Regions from separate parts of the Homo sapiens genome. Here region 2 is linked to region 1. Evidence: promoter capture Hi-C in 16 types of primary human blood cells and fetal thymus (Javierre and others, 2016). All regions are on one chromosome and are shown on one strand. Each heading gives the region's core, a stretch centred on a gene start or on the middle of the fragment in contact. The rest is flanking DNA. Distances are from core to core; before and after follow the strand shown. Region 1 holds the start of MTHFD1L (methylenetetrahydrofolate dehydrogenase (NADP+ dependent) 1 like). Region 2 overlaps ZBTB2 (zinc finger and BTB domain containing 2).

The links. The method cuts DNA at HindIII sites, captures the fragments that hold promoters and counts their contacts. A CHiCAGO score of 5 or more calls a contact.
Region 2: a contact is called between a fragment that was not itself captured here and the fragment with the promoter of MTHFD1L in region 1, in 1 of 17 cell types (megakaryocytes). The highest score is 5.1, in megakaryocytes.

What each region holds. Positions count from the first base shown.
Region 1 is chr6:150,863,971-150,867,423 of GRCh38, reverse strand. MTHFD1L (methylenetetrahydrofolate dehydrogenase (NADP+ dependent) 1 like) reads right to left here and starts at 1,722. Exons shown (of 28, transcript NM_015440.5): 1 at 1,375-1,722. The coding sequence starts at 1,601. RefSeq lists silencers at 551-700, 821-1,020, 1,181-1,590, 1,651-1,880. The HindIII fragment of the contact is 12,675 bases long and covers 1-3,453 here.
Region 2 is chr6:151,385,316-151,388,700 of GRCh38, reverse strand. The region is part of intron 1 of ZBTB2 (zinc finger and BTB domain containing 2); the gene reads left to right. It overlaps LOC124901232 (translation initiation factor IF-2-like), which reads right to left and starts at 381. Exons shown (of 3, transcript XM_047419613.1): 1 at 364-381. The coding sequence starts at 381. RefSeq lists an enhancer at 3,080-3,239. The HindIII fragment of the contact is 3,678 bases long and covers 1-3,385 here.

The DNA.
Region 1 (3,453 bases), core at 473-2,972:
GCCCAGGAGTTCCAGACCAGCCTGGTAACAGAGTGGTGCTCTGTCTCTATGAAAATAAAATAAAATAATCCGGGCATGGTAGCGCACACCTGTGGTCCCAGTTACACTGGAGGCTAAGGCGGGAGAATCGCTTGAGCCCAGGAGGCGGAGGCTGCATTGAGCCGAGATGGCACCACTGAACTCCAGCCTGAGCAACAAAGCGAGACTCCATTTCTAAAAGAAAAAGAAGACAGAGAACAAGAAAAACTAAATAAATGGCCCCTTAAAATCATCCGCCACATAATAAAGAGCCTAGGAAACGTATTTTACTGAGATGGGAGAAGGGGAGTGGGGAGGAAAATGGGAGAGCAGAGGGAGGAAGGAAAGGCAGAGAGAAAGGCAAGCAGGCAATGACTAAGAAAGAAGGCTAGAAGGAAAGGGAAGAGGATGTGAATGGAGGAGGTGGTCCGCTGGCCGGGGAAACCGCATCCTGGAACTCGTTCCTAATCCCAGTTCCGAGGGAGGCGGAAGGGGCTTTCTTGCCACCCCCAAGTTGTCCCGAAGGGCTCGCCCTGCAAGGCCCGAGACCCGTGCGCCCCTCTGGGCGAGGGCGGGGAAGGCTGGAGCCCAGGGGCGGGGACCGGGACGGGAAAGGCCGGGCCCGGGGCTCCCAGTTCGCTCTGGGCCCGCAGAAAACCCTGCAAACCCAGCTGCGCGGGGACTCCGTGGGCGCTGCGCGGCGAAGCTGGAAACCAGCGCTGAGACCTCTCGGATTCCCCCCGGCGGCTGTCCCGGGGGCCCGGCTCCACCTTTGCCGTTCCGGGAAAAGCGGACGTCAGCCACAGACCCCAGCCCAGCAGGAGGGGCCGCGCGCGGGGAAGGGCGCACAACACCAGGGAGCTTCGCGCGGGCGGCGCTGGGCCCGAGCCCGCCTCTCCCGAGCTCCGCTTGCCCTTCCCGAACCCCGGGCCAGCCGGCGCGCCGAGCCGCAGCCCCGCCCTCCTCCTGCTCCTCGCCCCCTCCCCTGGTTTCCGCCCCAGCCGCACCGCCCCTTTACCGTCTGGGTCGCGCCCGGCGCGATTGCATCAGAGCCGGCGGCCGGCTGCGCACGTGGAGCCGGGCGTGCGGTCCATGCCGCTAGGCGCCCATTGGAGATGCCCACGCCCACCTGCGCTGCGGGCCCGGTCGGGTACTGGATCCCCCGTTCTCCGCCAGCGCTCCCGGCCGCAGTGCCCAAGCCCGCGTTTCCCGACACACCGCCCGGCCCCCCTAATGAGTTGGCACCAAACACTCGCAGCCCCGCGCCCCGCTCCCCACGGCGGTCCCGGGCGCTCCGCCCCTGGGTCGGGGCCACAGCCGCTGGAGACCTGGGCCAGGGCCAGACCCGACACTCACCTGACGATGGAGTCCCGCGCCGCGGGCGTTCGGCCGCCGGGGCTGCAGCTGCTCCGGGCCTGGCCATCCTGCGGCCGCCGCTGTCCAAGCAGGCCCTCCCGGCCACCGCCGCCGCCTCCGCCGCCGCCGCTGCTAGCGCGACAGGGCACACGGAGGCGGCGCGGAGGGCCCGGGGGCTGGGGCGGGCGGCGGAGCTGGCGCAGGACGAGCGGCAGACGCGTGCCCATGGCGCGGGACGGCTGGTTCTCAGGGGACACGGAGCTGCGGCTGCCGAGGGCGGCGGGGCGCGTGCCAGGGGAGCAGGCGGCGGCGGCGGCGGCGGCGGCGGGAAGGACCTGGCGCTTCCTCCTCGTCCCAGGGGCCCCTAGGGGGCACTGCACCCGGCGGCCGTGACGTGCGGAGGGCGGGGGCCTGCGAGCCGCCGGCCGGGATGTCACGGCTTTGGGCACTTTGGTTTGGTAAGCTGTACCAGACAGAGGGTGGGGTGCGGAGTGGGACTCAGACTCTGCCCTGAGACTCAGCCTCCCTCCCTTCAGCCTGAAAGGCCGAGGTGACCCTTGGTACTCAGGGCGCCAAGTTTAGACGGGAGGGCTTGGATTTGCTGTACTGGAGGTGGCCTGAGGATAAGAGGCTTTGTAACCTTAGGCAGGGGCACTTAATCTCGGTGAGCTTGCGGGGTCTTCGTCAGTACCACAGAGATAACAATGCTCTTCTTAAAACCTTAAAAGGATTTTATAGTCCTGATTGGTTCCAGGGCCCCTCCAGGGGACCCACGTCCACAAATGCTCAAGTCCTTGGTAAAAAAAAAAAAAAAAAAAAGTGTTTGCATATCACCTACACACATCTTCCCATCATAAACTTTAGGTCATCTCCACATTCCCTAAGTCCTCACCTAACATCGTGGAGGGGTTCTTGGAAACTGAAACTTTAAGCCAAATGACTGTAAGGAAAACAGTTTGACCACAGGCTAATTGATATGAGTGAAGTTCCTACAACATATCTGTGGTCACAAAATCGCCCCTAAACTTCGAAATAAAGACCAAAACACTTCTAATATTAAACATTGAAATAAGTGTGAGCCATGCATATATTTAAGGAAGATTTTTAGCTCACGCCTATAATCCCAACACTTTGGGAGGCTGAGGTGGGCAGATCACGTGAGGCCAGAAGTTCAAGACCAGCTTGGCCAACATGGCGAAACCCCATCTCTACTAAAAATACAGAAAATTGGCTGGGTGTGGTGGCGCGTGCCTGTATTCTCAGCTACTCGGGAGGCTGAGGCAGGAGAATCGCTTGAACCCAGGAGCCAGAGGTTGCAGTGAGCCGAGATCATGTCACTGTACTCTAGCCTGGGCGACAGAGCACAGCTCTGTCTCAAAGAAAAAGTTTTTTTTAAACACCCCCTATCCCTCTCGCTTAGAGAAAAATAAAGATTAATAAAAGTGAGATCATTTTTACCGGCTTATTCCAACTCAGGGCACCTCACAGGGTGTGCTCACACACACCCACACTCACACTCGGATCGTGTAGATGCACCAATTTACCTAAAGTGCACTGCACGGCTTTGGGATGTGACAGGACACCAGAAGACAGAGAAAATCCACACAGACATGGATAAAACGTGACAGTGGACCCAGCCAGAAATCTATTTTTTTCTCATCATTATAAGAAAACCACTGAGCAAAATGATGAAATGATGTTATTCCAGGACCTGCTGTACTTATAATACCTAATACAATGTAAATGCTATGTAAATAGATATTACACTGTACTTTTTTATTTCTATGATTTTTTATTATTTTTTGTTATTGTAATTTTTTCAAATACTTTCAGTCCCAGGTTGATTGAGGATACAGAGGGCTGACCATAAGTTCCAAGTAAAGTGGATATCAGATTGTAATTTTATGATTCCCAAGTGAGGGTCAGATTGTTAACTTTATATTTTTACAACCTTATACCCTTATAATTCCCAGATAAGGTGGGAATAAAACTAGTCCAAGTTACAGAGATTGGTTTTCCATTAGCCGAGCACCATACTGGGACAGTGCTGGAAGGACCCTTCATACAATCCTAACAAAA
Region 2 (3,385 bases), core at 414-2,913, 520 kb before region 1:
AAGATAATATAAAATAATAGAAAAATGTGTTCATGGCCAGGGAAAGTGGCTCACGCCTATAATCCCAGCACTTTGGGAGGCCAAGGCTGGAGGATTGCTTGAAGCCAAGAGTTCAAAACCAACCTGGGTAACATAGATCCCACATCTCTATTAAAAAAGAAAAGAAAATGTATTCACCCCAACCCCATAGATATACTTTGCAATCCTGTGATTTCAAGTACCCACAGCATGCCCATGAGTAAGTGGATGTGCTTTCCCCAATTTGAGACTTACAAAATAGAGAAGGAAATATCTAAAGCTCATCTGTAGCATCGGCCTGGGATCAGCAGCTTTAGAGGTGGGAACTGCCCTTCCAGCTCTTACTGTTTCTTGGTGCTTCATTCCTAGCCCCACTCACCTTTCCCTGTAGGAACTTGGAAAAGCTGGGCAAGTCCCGTGGCACCAGCCTGCACAGGAGAGGAAGATTGAAAGAACTGGTTTGCTGGTAATTTTTTTACCATAAAATACCAAATGCACCTGGGAAAGGTCATTTATCATCACTTTTCCTATTTTCTTATGCTCTTTGGCTCTCCAAACATGACTGAAAACCTAAAAGGGAACTGAACATTTTTATTTCCCTGAAGAAAAAAAAAAAATGTAAACATTCTAAGCATTAGACTAAGAATATTTCTAAAACGTTCTTTATGCTCAAGTAGGTTATAATTTGTGCTAGCAAATTAAACTATTAAATAATTAAAATATTACTTCGAATTGATAGTAAATAAGATTCAGTATTTTTACAATGCCGATAGAGCCATTAAGATATGGAATCAGTAGCCACAGAACCCTTACAAGGAGTTGGCAGCCCAACATATGTAGATCCATTTTAGAAGCCAACTTGGAGGCTCATATTTATGCTCAAACTCATAACCCCCAGTTCACATGCTTGAGGTATGCATCACATGCCTTTGAGTGTCACTTTAAGAAAGTTCAGTATTCAAAGATAGGAATTTGAAAAATACTTTTATGTATCTGGCTAAGTACTTAGGGAAACTACTTTTTTACTTTTGTTAGAGATTTTAGTGTACTGTTCTCTTAAACAGGGGGCACTCGCTAAGTTCTGCACCAAGCAGGGTAAGCGTCAGAATCCTCTGGAATGAAGTGCGCATGTTCTCCTGCACCGGGAGAGTCATTTAGGTTCTCTGAGTCCCCAAAGTGATTCTGAACGGCGCTTGTCTAAGTGTGGTCTGCAGATCCTTTTGAAGCCCCAGGATCCTTTCAGGATTCAATGAAGTCAAAACTGTTGTCACAGTAATACTAAGTTGTTATGGCCTTTTCCGCTGTGTTGACAAAATGTCTTCTCAGTGTTGACACTGAGAAGATCTGCTTAATTCAGTGAGCCGATATTTTCCAAATGACCAACAGATGATGTTAAAAATCATGAGTGGGTAAATGATCCGTTGAAAGTGGATAGACCAATGAATATTACTATAATAGAGTAGGAAAAGTTAATTCAGTTATGTAGTTTTATATTACACAACCAACTTTTAAGAAAGTAGACTTGTCAAGTGTTGGTATAATATAAAAGAGGACTGTCCACAATTACCTGAAAAGGCTATTCAAATATATCTCCTTTTTCCAACTACATAGGTGGGTGAGGCTGGATTTTCTTCACTACTCAACCAAAACAGAGTTAATTGAGGAGTAAATGCAAAATCCAGTTGTCTTCTGTTAAAGAGAATTGCAAAAATATAAAAAGACACCACTTTGTTATTTTAGAAAATACAATTATTTTTTCATAAAAATGTTCTGTACTTTAACATGTAATGGCCTTATTGTTTTTAATTGAATTAAATATTTCTAAAATTTCTCCATTTTGGTAATTATCAGTAGTTAAAATCCATATAAACATATAATTGATGTTCTTAATAATTTTTAAGACCATTAAGGGATCCCAACACCAAAAAGTTTCAGAAGCTCTGCTCTAAAATATTGAAACATATTATTAAGACTTTGAGTTAAACACATTTGAAACTCACCTGTGTTATATACCCTGAACTACACATTTAGGTGATTATATTTTCTTCAGATTAATTTTACTAATCATTTTATGGTATATAAAAAACAAAGGCAATCTCCACTCTGGTGGATTATTAGAAGCAGATCAGTTTTTTGTTGTTGTTGTTTTGAGACAGGGTCTCACTCTTTCATGCAGGCTAGAGTGCAGTGGCATGACCATGGCTCACAGCAGCCTCAGCCTCCCTGGCTCAAGCAATCCTCCCACCTCAGCCTTCTGGTAGCTGGGACCATGGGCACATGCCACCACATTCAGCTAATTTTCTTTTTATAGAGACAGGGTCTCGTCATGTTGCGCAGGCTGGTCTCCGGGGCTCAAGTGATCTGCCCGCCTTGGCCTCCCAAAGTGCTGAGATTACAGGGGTGAGCCACTGTCCCAAGCCCAGATTAATTTTTTAATTTTGCCGTGTGTAATCATCTGTAAGTTTCCTTCAGGTTGATTGTAGCATAATGCCTTTAGAATTATTACTTTAATATGAACTCGTTATTAGCCATAAATCTCTGATCTACTTCTGTTTGACACCTAAGATGTCCCTGAATTGCCTCCTTATGACCCCAACTTACATTTGGAAACTAAAAACTAATTTAAGTGTAAACATAGGGAAAATATAATTGAAAACAGGAGTATTTTACAAATGCAGTGCTTTTTAATATGAAAATAAGTGCTGTTTATGCCTCTCTCTTTTCTAATTACTATGGAAGAAGGTTGACTAAGGAAATGTTAAGAAAAAAATGCCACTCCATTATCACAACTAAATAAGATGCATTTTCTACCTTCAAAATACAGTTTTAAAATGTATTAAAATTCAAATGACCAGCCTTCAGGTTTACTTCATGGGCCCTCCAATATTAATTATTAATAATAGTAATTGAAAAATCAGCTTTTCATCCTAGTAAGTGGTCTAAACTACTTGAAAGAATCAATCTTACTTGTGGGTAATGCCTCTGCTGTTACTGATTGTCCTTTGAATTACAATATTCATTTATGCTTCACTTAAATAAAATCAAGGACTTCAGAGGACCCTTTTAGTGCCCTTGAAATGGGTAGTGTAAGTGGTGTTTAGTGTCTTAGAACAGCTATTATCTTTAAAAACTGAATCAACAATTTCCACAAGCTGTTTTGATCTCCTATTCTTACACTGAAAATGAAGGAGGAACTTAGGTTGTCAAAATACAACATAATTGTATGTGCCCCATTCTTCTGCACTTCTAAAAGGATGAGTGAGTTGCTTACGGATCAGCCCACATGTGCTCTGTGATGAAAACTGAAAGCAAGTGACAGCTAGGTGGTCAATGTCCTGTTATCAAGGAGGAAACAGTGGCAATGAAA